Regions from separate parts of the Homo sapiens genome. Here region 2 is linked to region 1. Evidence: promoter capture Hi-C in human tissues and cell types (Jung and others, 2019). All regions are on one chromosome and are shown on one strand. The core of a region is centred on a gene start or on the middle of the fragment in contact, and the rest is flanking DNA. Distances in the headings are between cores, read along the strand shown. Region 1 holds the start of LRRC14B (leucine rich repeat containing 14B). Region 2 overlaps TRIP13 (thyroid hormone receptor interactor 13).

The links. The method cuts DNA at HindIII sites, captures the fragments that hold promoters and counts their contacts. A contact is called where the count stands out against the background at its distance.
Region 2: a contact is called between a fragment that was not itself captured here and the fragment with the promoter of LRRC14B in region 1, in 2 of the 25 tissues and cell types used here (lymphoblastoid cells and mesenchymal stem cells).

The regions. Positions count from the first base shown.
Region 1 is chr5:188,582-195,109 of GRCh38, forward strand. LRRC14B (leucine rich repeat containing 14B) reads left to right here and starts at 2,914. Exons shown (of 2, transcript NM_001080478.3): 1 at 2,914-3,856; 2 at 6,127-6,528. The coding sequence starts at 2,958. It overlaps LOC124900929 (a long non-coding RNA gene), which reads right to left and starts at 6,146. Exons shown (of 2, transcript XR_007058670.1): 1 at 5,781-6,146; 2 at 4,147-4,407. PLEKHG4B (pleckstrin homology and RhoGEF domain containing G4B) reads left to right here. Exons shown (of 20, transcript NM_052909.5): 20 at 1-1,385. RefSeq lists enhancers at 1-73, 33-327, 374-513, 2,579-2,628. The HindIII fragment of the contact is 15,773 bases long and covers 1-6,528 here.
Region 2 is chr5:910,265-916,792 of GRCh38, forward strand. It overlaps TRIP13 (thyroid hormone receptor interactor 13), which reads left to right. Exons shown (of 13, transcript NM_004237.4): 10 at 1,579-1,732; 11 at 4,201-4,313; 12 at 5,640-5,709. Among named protein-coding and RNA genes, the nearest start is that of TRIP13, 21 kb to the left of the region's middle. The HindIII fragment of the contact is 4,728 bases long and covers 2,898-6,528 here.

The DNA.
Region 1 (6,528 bases), core at 1,664-4,163:
GCTGCTACGAGACAGACGCTCTTGTTCCGGATCAGAGCAGCAGACAGAACCGGCACTTTTAGGGTCCAAACCCTGTTGCCCACAGAACGCCCATGACACCAGCTGGGTGGAGCTGCCGCCGAGTCCACGCCCCGTCTGGCTGGGACCTGGAGCTCCCCTCAAGCTGCAGATCCACTCTGCACCACAAGGTGGCCTCGCAGAGGAGCCTCCCGAGCTTTGGAACCAGAGGCAGGCTCAGCGATGCTCTCCATCCGGCCTGGCCCCACCGTGTGTATCAGGTGTCAGAGGCCTTGCTGGGTGCCAGGCCACGTCTGTGCTGTCACAGCTTTGAGGGGCCAGCGGGTCCTAGGGAGAGGCCCGTGCGACGTGAGTAACAGCAGTTTTTCTTCTGACAGCTGGGATGGAGGTGGGTCCTCCAGGGAGTGCCCCAGTCCTCGAGAGCCAGACTTGTGCACGGGCCTGGAAATGAAGGTCTCAGGCAGGGGCTGCGCACACCGATGGTCAGCATTGCCGTTCGGGGCCTGCAGTCGCCCATAATGGGCCCTGCCCCCTAGGCCTGGCCTCTTTTGCTTTCCTCCTGGATGGTTCCTCTACCCCTGGTCCAGCAGGGACTCAGCAGTGCCTGCCAGCTGCAGACCCCCATGCTCCTGCAGCCTGGAACCCTCCTGCCCTCCAAAGGTCATGGGGTGACCCAGGGTGGGAACACCAGACCCCCTCACCCCGTGTCCACCGCCCATGGCCGGGCTCACAGTGTCTCAGAGCCGTGGTGAGCCATCCTAGGACCAGTGTACCTCACAACCTTTCAGACCAGTGAAGGCCAGTGGGCTGGGTGGTCCAGGCATGTCCCCAACGCAGGTCCAGCCATCTCTGCACAGAACTGGAATCTCGGTTCATTTCGGTTTCAGCAGGTCCCATGTAGTTAGCAGGACAGCACTTGAGTTAGGTCTGAGAAAGAACGCCTGTTTGTCATGGCATTTCCTGTAAGGAGCCCAGAGCCGTGGCCCCAGGTTGGGACGGCGGCGCCAGAGCTGGGCCTGAGTCTGACCCAACCTGTGCTGAGTGGTCCTGCTGGAATGGGAACCCCAAGAGGACCACCCCTCTCTAAAAGAAGGGAAAACAGTAAGCGAGAGGGAGGCTGCAGGGGCCCAGACCTTGGCTGACCTTCCTAGCCATGGTCTCCACCCTCCGAGACCCAGGGGCCCCGCAGTGACAGCAGGGTGTTGGGCCACACAGAGCCCGAGTAGGTAAAGGAAGGTTCTGGAAACCACTTTTCAGAACCCAAAAGGTGTCTGGGAAATGGCGTTACCTGCCACTGTTGTTAAGTGTTTACTTTGTATCAATACTGAATTGTTAAAAATTTTAATCATAAAAACCAATGGAACATGTTTTTCTACTGTGTCCTTCGAGATTCTCTTATCTGGTCCTGGAAAGGGGCCGTGTGTCTGGGGAAACCTCTTGTGCACCTCATGAGGGGAGCCCGGGGGCCCACATCGGCTGGCCGAGGGCGGCCACCCCTGAAGGGTGGGGTCAGGGCCCACCCACCTCTTCACACACACCTCCGCCTGCTGGACAGTGCCTGGGCCCCACAACGGAGCACAGTCCCTTCTGCATGGGTCGCCTCCCGGGGAGAGGCATTGCTCAGGCTCAGGGAACAAACTGGGGAGGGTCAGACAGGGAGGCTGGTGGGGCACCCATGACCAGCACCCTCCAAGCTTGCTCAGCAGCCTTCCCCCTCCCACTGCTGTTTCTCTTTCTGTCTCCCCGTCTGTCTGTCTTTCTCAGTCTCTGTCTCTGCCTACCAGTCTCTCTCTCTCTCTCTTAGTCTCTGTCTCTCCCTTTCTGTCTCTCTCTCAGTCTGTCTCTTTCTGTTTCCCTTTCTCTCTCCCTCAGTCTCTGTCTCTCTCCCTCTTAGTTTCTGTCCCTCTGTCTCTGTCTCAGTCTCCGTCACTCACTTCTCTCAGTCTCCCTCAGCCTCTGTCTCATGGCCGTGACCCTCCAAAGCCCATGGACACGTGGTGCCCTGTAGTGATGTGTGCAGTGATGTGTGCAGCGATGTGTGCTGACCCTGCCCTGAGTGGCAGTGTCACGGGGAGAGGTGAGTGCAGCACCCATCAGCTGTCCAACACGGTCAGTGCTGGGAGTGAACCATCAGGCACCGCCCCCCAACACAGGTGTATCCCATTCCCTGCAGCTTTCCCTGCCGCACAGGCGGCAGGGTTGCAGACAGGACACTGCAGCTCAGAGAGAGCTGGGGGCTCATCCGAGGCCATCAGGGAGGCTCCACCTCTCCCAGCCACTCTCTCCCATGGAAAGTAGGGAAGCCACCCCCGCCGGGTCCTTGGGGAGAAGGAAAGGCACAGGGAAGGGGCAAAACAGCAGCTCCATTCCTGGCCACTCGTCTCACCCCAGATGCGAGGCGAAGTGTGGGAGCGGCCCCAGAGGCCACTGTGGAAAGGGAACTGGTTACCGAGTGAGGCGCAGGGGCCTGGCCTGTTCTCTGCCCCGTTGACTGGTGGGGGAGGTGCCCAGAGCTGGGCAGTAGCCCCGCTTGGATGGTAAACAGGACCTGCCCGCTGGCCTCACCGGCCGCCAGCACGAACGCCTGCCAAGACTGGCTTTCTGCAGCATGGAGCACAGGCTTCTCTGCCCAGCCCTGCCATGGGCACGGGCTGCCTTTCTGTGTCGGCTGGGTGCCTGAGCCAAGCAGCTCCCAACGGCTGGGTGCCTGAGCCAAGCAGCTCCCAACGGCTGGGTGCCTGAGCCAAGCAGCTCCCAACGGCTGCGTGCCCCGAGGCCGGGCAGACGCAGGTGTCCCAGGACCAAAATAGCAGTCAGATGATCATAAGGCCCCGTGGCAGGGCCCCCAGGGCAGGCTGCTCACAGCTGCTGCAGCTAAAGATAGGCGTGAAGGGCACACGCCTTGGGGAAAGTCGTGGGGAGCGGTCCTGTCTCGGGCCATGGACACAATGAGGTCACTCCGCTTCATTTCTGCAGAAGCTCTGGTGTCCCACCCCCAGGTGGCCCGGCAGAGCCTGGACAGCGTGGCCCACAACCTCTACCCACTCCTGTTCAAAGCCAGCTACCTGCTGGAGCAGGCGGAGGTGACGCGCGCGGTGCTGGGGCGCTGGCCCCTGGAGGAGTTCCGGCTGGGAGCGCTGCTGGGTCCTGGTGCCGACCACCCCCAGGACCTGCGCGACAGAACCTGCAGGGCCTGCCTGGAGGCGCTGGTGCGCGGCCTCGCGGACCACGTGCTGCAGGACCGGAGCCGCCGGCGGCTGCGGGTGGCTGACCTCACGGGCATCCGAGATGTGCAGGTGCAGCGGTGCCCGTGCGGGAGGGCGCTGGGCAGGTGGGGCCGCACCCAGCTGCTGGCCAGGACCTGCTGTGAGCTGCAGGCAGAGCCCCTCGCAGCCGGGCGCCCCGTCGAGGTCCTCGCCGACCTCTTCGTCACTGAGGGCAACTTCGAGGCGGTGGTGCAGGCTCTGAGGCCAGCGGGCCCGGCCCCTCTGCGGGTGCACTGCCCCTCGTTCCGGGCGGACAGCCTGAGCCCCAGCCAGCTCCTGCACGTGCTGCGTCTGGCTGGCCCGGGTGCCCTGCGCAAGCTGGAGGTGGTGCACAACGTGCGGCTGCATGCGGGCCACGTGCAGCAGCTTCTGGCCCAGGTGGGCTTCCCCCGGCTGGCCTCGCTCACCCTGCCCACCAAGGCCTTTGATGCACCCCCCACCTACGCCTCCACTCCCGACGGCGAGGACCCCCTCCTCGCCTCCATCGCCCGGGAGCTCAGCAAGATGGCGCAGCTCACTGAGCTCAGTGTGGCCTTCTCCACGCTGACCGGGAAGATCCCGACGCTGCTTGGGTGAGTCTTGGGGAGGGGACTGAGGGCGGGCTGGTGGCTGCAGAGGCAAGGAGAGATCGTCCAGGGGCCTGCTCATGTCCAAGGCCATGAGGCTACACGGCCTCCAGCCTCTCACTCCGGGTGTGGCCACAGCCACAGGACAGCGGCCCCGCCAAGGGGCAAGAGCACCGAAAGTCAGAGCCACCAGGAAAGAAGCGGGCTGCCATGTGTGACTTAGGGATGTGGAGAGAATGCCAGTTAAAAAAAGAGAATACGGAAATTACCAAACAGACGAAACAGAAGTGCCTACGTGGTGTGAGGAGTTGTCTATTGTTGATGAACGACTCACCCCAACACTTGGGGGCTTCAAACAGCAAACACGATTTCAGCTCAGAAATCTGAGCCTGTCGGTGCCTTTGGCTCAGGGCTGCTGTTGGCCAAGGGTGCCATCTCATCCGAAGGCCTGACAGGGCGGGATCCTCCCAGTCTCCCTCGAGGGAGGCCTGGGCTCCATGCTGCATGGACCTCCCCATGGTGGGACAGGAGGCTTATGCAGGATCCTCTCAGCAGATCTGCGTGAAGGAGGCAGAGAGGGCAGCAGCTAGGAAGGGGCCAGGCCAAGGCAGCCTCAGGCAGTGGTGAGGGGGATGCCCGGCGGTGGGTCCAAGGGGGGTGCCCAGCAGTGGATCCTGGAGGGGGAGTGCCTAGCGGTGGGTCCAAGGGGGGTGCCCAGTGATGGGTCCTGGGGAACGGGGTGCCTGGCAATGGGTGCTGGGAGGGAGCCTGGTGGTGGGTCCTGAAGGAGGGGCAGCTGGCGGTGGGTATTGGGGTCACCGGGTGATGGGTCCTGGTGGGGCAACCTAGCGGTGGGTCCGGGGGGCACCCAGTTTTGGGTCCTGGGGGTGGGACCTGGCAGTGGGTCTAGGGGGAAGGGGTGCCTGGTAGGTACTGGGGAAGCACCTAGAGGTGGGTCCTCAGGTGCTGGGGGGTGCCTGGCGGTGGGTTCTGGGGGCTGGGGGCACATGGCAGTGGGTCCTGGTGGGGCGTTTGGCAGTGGGTTTTGGGGAGAAGTGCCTGGCGGTGGTAGGGGTGCCTGGTGGTGGGTCCTGAAGTGGGGGCACCTGGTGGTGAGTCCTGGGGTGGGGGGTGGCTGGCTGTGGGTCCTGGGGTGGCACCAGGCAGTAGATCCTGGTGGGGGATGCCTGGCGGTGGGTCCTGAAGGATGGGGGTGCCCTGCGGTGGGTCCTGAGGGATAGAGGTGCCCTGCGGTGGGACCTTGGGCAGGGGGCATGCCTGGCGTGGTTTCTCAGGTGGGACAGGGGCACCTGGCAGTGGTCCCAGTCCTGGGTGGGGAGGGACATGTCCTGGGCGGGACATGCAGGTGGGTGCAGGTGCAGGTGGGTGAAGAGTGAGGCAGCCTCCTAAGGAGAGGGTTGGGATGGGGCAGACCCCAGCTGTGTCCCCCGGCTCAGCGAGGACAGTGAGGCCATGTCCCGATGCAGTTCTGCTCTGGAGATCTCCCTTAGCTCAGAACCAGAGTAGGTCTCACTCCAACTGCCCCTGTATTAGAGCTAGGCTGCCCTACACCAACCAAGTCAGAATATGGGATGTGGGGCAAGTTGGGGGGTCTTTAGGGTTCCCAGGTGAGTCAAAGGCTGTACTGGAAGCCTCCATGGCCCTTCCCAGCTCTGAAACCATGCGGGATTCATCTTTGTCAGAGTGGAGCGGCACTGTCCTGTGGTCTCACTGCCCCCCGCCGTCTGCTTTCTGAGCAGACATTCTGTCCTGTGGTCTCACTGCCCCCCGCCGTCTGCTTTCTGAGCTGACATTCTGTCCTGTGGTCTCACTGCCCCACCCCGTCCACTTTCTGAGTGGACGTTCTCGTGGTCACATGCATCACTTTTCTCAGACAACACAAAAGCAGCTGTTGACAAAACAAACTTACCATTTAGGTGCTGAGGACAAAAGCCAGACCTCTGGGTATAGCTGACTTCACCACGTGGCGGCCGGCAGTCATGGCCAACACTAAGCGAATGCACGTGGTTGTGCTCTGGTAAAATGTTATTTATGGACACCGAGTTTGAATATCATGTAACTTTTCACGTTTCACAAACTATTATATAAATATAACAACCACTCCTAGCTCATAGGCTGTATGAAATTAGGCGGTGGTTGGACGTGACTGTGTGTTGACCCCATGATGGACAAATGGGTTGTTCCCATTCGCCTGAGCCCTCGGCTCCTTCCTGGGACCCTCCTCTCACCTGTGCTCTTTCCCCCGTGTCCTGCAGCCCCCTACAGACCCCGCTGCGAGTACTGGACCTGGCCAACTGTGCCCTGAACCACACGGACATGGCCTTCTTGGCAGACTGTGCCCACGCTGCCCACCTGGAGGTGCTGGACCTCAGTGGACACAACCTGGTCAGCCTGTACCCCTCGACCTTCTTCAGGCTGCTCAGCCAGGCTTCCCGGACGCTGAGGATCCTGACACTGGAGGAGTGTGGCATCGTAGACAGCCACGTTGGCATGCTGATCCTGGGCCTGAGCCCCTGCCACCGGCTGCGCCAGCTCAAGTTCCTCGGGAACCCGCTGTCGGCCCGCGCCCTCCGGCGCCTCTTCACCGCACTCTGTGAGCTCCCCGAGCTGCGCTGCATTGAGTTCCCGGTGCCCAAGGACTGCTACCCCGAGGGTGC
Region 2 (6,528 bases), core at 4,012-6,511, 720 kb after region 1:
GTGCCTCCCTCCCCGGCCTCCATTCTCCTGTCTCCCCGGTTTATGCTGCTGGCGTCTCTCCGCAGGGAGGGGTCTACACAGCCTGTCTGTGGCCTTCTCTCCTGGCGTGTGCCCCTTCAGCATAGCTCAGGGTTCTGTGGGGGGAATCCCAGACCTGCACATCCACCTGTGACCAGACATCAGGCTTAGATGCCCGGGATGCCAGGCACACTCCCACACTGCTCACTGGGCCCCAAATCCCTAACTTCCTGGGATTCCACACGACGCTGATGGCCTCGCTGTGCACCTGCCACTCAAACCAGAGGATGGAGGCCACCGTGACTTCTCCCTGTCAGTCACAAGGGGGTGTGGCTCAGGAAGAAACAAGGAGACACGCTTGCCTCTCTTGCCTTCATTCCCTCGTGCTTCTGGTTCCAGCCCCTCTCTAGAGGACTCTTTCTGTCCCCCACCAGTCCTGTCCACTCCCGCATCTCTGGATTGTCAGCCCCTGGGTCGTGATCTGCAGGCCTAGGCCTCCCTCTGGCCCTTCCTGCAGCCCCACCCTCCTGGTGCTGGACTGAGCAGCTGTGAGCTCACCCAACCTCTGTGCCTTGTTCCTCTGCCGGGGACCCACAGGCTCCCTGTCCTGCCTCTGCTTAGCTCACCCCGGCGCGCAGGCACAGGGCCTGCCCTCCCTTGGCCAGGGTCTAGGTGAAGTTGACCTTCCCCAGGCAGCAGTGGTAGCACTGCCACATGTGCAGCCACGCCCCCCAGGCCTGTGCAGCATGCTCCCTGGGGGCACCTTGTGCCCGCTCTGCTGGCTCATGCTGGGTCCTTGGGGGACATTGGTCAACAGACCAGACAACAGGGGCTCTCTCTATGGAGTTTAGACGCTAGAGGGGAGAGCAGATCATGAACATGGGAAGTAACCCAGCTCTAGAGTATGTCTAGGGATGATGAGTGGCCATGCCCAGGTGGTGGTGGGCACCAGAGCCCACGGTAGGTGGCACAATCAGGAACGCCATGCGAAAGTGAGATCCTTGCTAGGCCGGGCGCGGTGGCTTACGCCTGTAATCCCAGCACTTTGGGAGGCCGAGGCAGGCGGATCACGAGGTCAGGAGATCGAGACCATCCTGGCTAACACGGTGAAACCCCGTCTCCACTAAAAATACAAAAAATTAGCCGGGCACGGTGGCGGGCGCCTGTAGTCCCGGCTACTTGGGAGGCTGAGGCAGGAGAATGGTGTGAACCGGCGAGGCGGAGCTTGCAGTGAGCCGAGATAGCACCACTGCACTCCAGCCTGGGCGAAAGAGCGAGACTCTGTCTCAAAAAAAAAAAAAAAGGAAAGTGAGATCCTTGCCAAGGTTGAAGGCAGTGAGGGAATGAGCGAAGTGGGGCTGTAGAATTCCCAGAAGGCCAAGGAGCAGCGAGAGCAAAGGCTGGGGGGTCTGCGTGGCCTGTGTTGGCACAAGGCCACTTTCCTTCCTGTTGGCAGCCTGCTGGCCATCGTCCTGCCAACCTCCTTGCCAGATAGGGCAGGATAGAATTGGGTCACCGACAGCCGTGATGACTGTGGTGCTTGCTTCTCGGCCACAACAGGCATTCCAATGTTGTGATTCTGACCACTTCTAACATCACCGAGAAGATCGACGTGGCCTTCGTGGACAGGGCTGACATCAAGCAGTACATTGGGCCACCCTCTGCAGCAGCCATCTTCAAAATCTACCTCTCTTGTTTGGAAGAACTGATGAAGGTACCTTTATTTTTTTTTTCCTCTTGATACAAATGGATTTCTTATATGTTCTTAATTAATTAAGATAGCTTAAAATAAGCTCGTTCCAGTACGGAGGATTTCAACATATGCATTAACTCCCTTCTTAAATTGAAAACTAGTTTTGTATGTGACAGGTTGAGCTGATAGTTGAAACTAGGGCCACTGACTCAATATTTTTGTTCTTTTGGCACAATACAGTCATCATTGTTCATTATTTGAGGTACCAGTCAGTGTAGGGGACGTCAGTGACCGGCTGTGTTTACCTGGCTGGCTGCACAAACCTTAGTTCTCAGCTTACCCCGGGCTTTTCCAATGCCCTGCCTCTCGGGGGCCTGTATCCTTACCTGAAAGAGGAAACATCACGGGCGTAGTATGGGCCTGGTTTTGGTCACGGGGTCCACATGACGTCACGTTCTTGAGTCGCCTGTTGTGATGATAGGCAGGAACACTGTTGCCGTGGGCAGAGCGACGCGTGCGGGTTGTGTGTGTGAGTCAGGAAGGCCGTCGCCACGGGCAGAGCGACGCGTGCGGGGAGCGTGTGTGAGTCAGGAGGGCCGTCGCCACGGGCACAGTGACGTGCGGTGAGTGTGAGTCAGGAGGGCCGTCGCCACGGGCACAATGACATGTGCGGTGAGTGTGAGTCAGTAAGGCCGTCGCCATGGGCACAGTGACGCGTGTGGTGAGTGTGCGTGAGTCTGGAACGCCGTCGCCATGGGCAGTGACGCTGCGGTGTGTGTGAGTCAGGCTAGCAGGGACCTGCCCCATGCTTGTGTTTCTGCTGCTCTAGCCCCTGTGGGAACAGACCTGTCCCAGACAAATCATCCTGCAGGGGCCTTTGTTTAGGGTAGTTGGGCGGTAACCAAGCAAACCAGTGAATGGGGATTTAAACAGTGATGAGTTTAATGCAGTTGTTGCCACCTGCTGGTACCACAGAGTAGGGGTGTTAACAAGGATGGCACACCCTGCTGTGGTTGGGGACGGGAGAACTGGTCTCAGCCATGGACCCACTGGGCCTGCCCGGGTCAGCACTGTCCAGGCATGGTTTTCTTGGGGGTTGGGGAAAGGAGACGGAGCTCTGTGGAGCTTTGCCTGGAGAATGCCAGTGATCTGAAGACTGATTCTACAGCAGTTTTGCTGCCAAGGAGCCCCACGTGATAGCAGATCCTGCGAGGAAGTCGTGTGTGTTGGAGGTCCTCACGCACCTTCAGTGTGGGTTCCAGCCCTCGCAGTGTGACGTTTATACACTTGTACACTCGTGCTGTGAATCCAGGGGCTGTTTAAAGTGTTAGCTAAGAGGGATGGACTTTTTCTGGGACAGTGTAGGACAGGGGTAGTTTTTTGTTTGTTTGTTTATTTTGAGACACAGTCTCACTCTTACCTAGAGCTGGAGTACAGTGGTGCCATCGCAGCTCACTGCAACCTCCGCCTCCTGGGTTCAAGCGATTCTCGTGCCTCAGCTTCGTGAGTAGCTGGGATTACAGGTGCATGCCACCACACCTGGCTAATTTTTGTATTTTCAGTAGAGAAAGGGTTTCATCATGTTGGCCTGGCTGGTCTCAAACTCCTGACCTCAAGTGATCCGCCCACCTCAGCCTTCCAAAGTGCTGAGGTTACAGGCGTGAGCCACCGTGCCCAGTGATAGGGGTAGTTTCTTATTTTAGGCAGTTTATATGAAATTAAGACATGCAGATGTCACAGTGGATATTGAACTGGTCTCGAAAGCTCAATATCCCCCAAAGCACAAGCACAAACTGTCTTAATTTTGCTCACACCCCTCAACAAACCTCCAAAATGTTCAGACAATGCTATTTTCTTCCTTCTCCTTGTTCCTGAGTCAGAACGGTTCGTATTAGAATTCAGTCATAGTAAGTCAGTGTGCGCACCTGACTGTTGGCAAGGCTGCTTGGAAAAGCATGACTTCCAGACAAATGATCTCTGAGGGGAACTTCTGGTGCTCAGCTCCTCGGTCAGTCAGACACTGTCATGCTGCCAAACAAGCCTCACCTTTAAAACAGACAAACTAGGATCCTGCTTTGGAAGTCAGTGGAAGTCCTGGCTCTAAGTCCCAGCTCTGCCCACTGTGGGTTTTGACGTCTCCGAAGGTGGCATAACAGACTGGACTGGGTGCCTCCAGGTCCCTTCCCTTCCTGACACACAGGGAGGAAAAGTTTTGGCTCGAAACACAGAAGAGGCTATGTTGCTACTGGTTTCTGAGGCATGTTCCGTTATTTGTATTTGTTTGAAAAAGCAGAATGTGTACGCTGAGAGGCATGAGAGAGCGAGCTTGTTCCCTAGTGCAGCTGTGCATCTTGAGTCGTCACCGTCTGGATTTCTGTGAGACGTGGCGTGGTTGACATTTGACCTGCAGGTGCTGTCCCTCTTGCTGACGGTGCCTACGCTCAGGCCTCTGTGGACTCAGCTAACCGCCTGTACTTCTGTCTCCCCAGTGTCAGATCATATACCCTCGCCAGCAGCTGCTGACCCTCCGAGAGCTAGAGATGATTGGCTTCATTGAAAACAACGTGTCAAAATTGAGCCTTCTTTTGAATGACATTTCAAGGTGCAAATTGACCTCATTTTTGTAATCAAGAAGAATCCATTTGTGATATTAACTAGGGAGTCATTGTTTCCTTTGAGGAGACCAGGGAGGGCCCTGGGTGTGAACTCTCAACACAGTATAGGTATGAACATGCATGTACACACGTGTGTGTGTGTGTGTGTGTGCATGTGAGTAGAAACACGCAGCACAGCCACCTCCTTCCAAAGGAGATGTAACCCTTGCTCAGGGAGGGCGCTGGCTCACACTGGAAGCCTGCAACCCTACGGCTGACGACACTTACAAGGATTCGCAGAGTCCACAGAAAGGAAATGGCTTTGGGGGTCCAGGGAGGGTGGAAGGGAAGGTAGGAAAATCAAACGGTGCCTTGAAGGATAGAATTTGGTTCCAGCTGGAGAGAAATCAGGAAGGCTGCTGGAGCAGTGTGTTCAGGTGACCGTCTAGTGGGTTGCAGTGTGGAGGCTGGGGAGGTGCCGGAGAGGCGGGGGGTGGAATGGACAGAGCCTCGGGTTTCTGGCCAGAGTTTGAATTTTATTTTGAAGTTGGCAAGAATGTGGAAGGCTTTAAACAAGGGATAACATGAAGAATGTAGTATTTTTTAAGGATTTGGATTATCTGTTGAAGAGATTTAAATCAGTTAAGATGGGAACGAAGAACAGTTCAGAGACTTCTACAAAAATTGAAGATGTGAACCCACCCATTATTTGGGGACTCTGTGCCTACTGACCATGTGCCCGCTGCATCGTGCCTTACGCCTGGTGCTCCCAGGCAGGTGATGCCTTCCCTGAGCGCAAGGATGCTGGCCCTGGGGCAGAGGCTCCCGGGCAGGTGATGCCTTCCCTGAGCGCAAGGATGCTGGCCCTGGGGCAGAGGCTCCCAGGCAGGTGATGCATTCCCTGAGCGCAAGGATGCTGGCCCTGGGGCAGAGGCTCCCGGGCAGGTGATGCATTCCCTGAGCGCAAGGATGCTGGCCCTGGGGCAGAGGCTCCCGGGCAGGTGATGCCTTCCCTGAGCACAAGGATGCTGGCCCTGGGGCAGAGCACACAGGTGTGCCTTGGGTGTGCTTCAGAGCCGCGAGGACACTGCCTCCCAGAGCAGGAGCTGAGGATGGGGAGAGACCGGCCCCATACGAGAGGCCGGGGGCAAAGAGACATTCAGAGGGCAAGGCTCAGGAGACCAGTGAGGGGCAGGAAGTGCCCTGTGAACCCAGGGTGTGCTTGGGACGCCTCGGCTTGTGTTCCCAGGGATGCCTCGGCCAATGAGGAAAATTAGTCCTGAAACGTGTGATTGTATAAATTGCTGTCTCTGAACTGGGTTTTCTTTACACAGGAAGAGCGAGGGCCTCAGCGGCCGGGTCCTGAGAAAACTCCCCTTTCTGGCTCATGCGCTGTATGTCCAGGTGAGTCTCCACTGCTGTCCTCCAGCACCCGCCCTGTCCACAGGTCTCAGCCTCGCCGGAGATTCCGCTTAGTAGCCCTGGGGTATCAGCCTCATTTTATCTCAGTTTCTAAACCACAGGGTCCTGGGGCCGGAGGAGGAGCTGACCTTGGCACCGAAACACAGGGGCTGTCTTGAGTCCTTTGGGAGGAGGCGGCTGTGCCACATGCCTCTGCTCACACGCATGCATGCACACACATGCACGTCTGCCTCTGTGGTGTGCTGAGCTCGTGGCCAGGGCCCTCGCTGGCCTCACCAGAGGTTTGTGCTCTTTCAGTCTGGGTTCAGCTCACATAGAACAGTGACCTGGATCCACAGCCTCACCCACTGGGTGCTGGGCCTGTTGCAGATGCTTCGGCCTGGGGCACTCACCCCTCCCCTGCACTGTCCCCAGCAGCCGGTTGGGGTAAGGACTCAGTGTCTGGCAGAGCAGATACACTTACATCTGAGAAGAGAAAACCCCCATCTTGGAATGTTTCCTTTCAAATCAGAAGTGACTCAGGCTCTGTCTGATCAGTAGCAGCCTCTGTGCTGGACACAGTGCTCAGCACAGAGGTGACAGTGGCCATGGATCATGAGTGGGAGCCTTTTGATGCAGGGGAGGTGACAGCTCTGGGCACTGGGCCATGGGAATTCTCTGGTTATAAGCCTGGGACATAGGGTGGGCCCTCCAGGGTCTGCTCCCTACAGCTTCTCATCCTTCTCAGTGTGTGGGTGGCTGCCTTGGTGCTCCCCTGCCCACCCCCGCAGCTGTTTCTGACATTCAGGACATGGCGGGGGC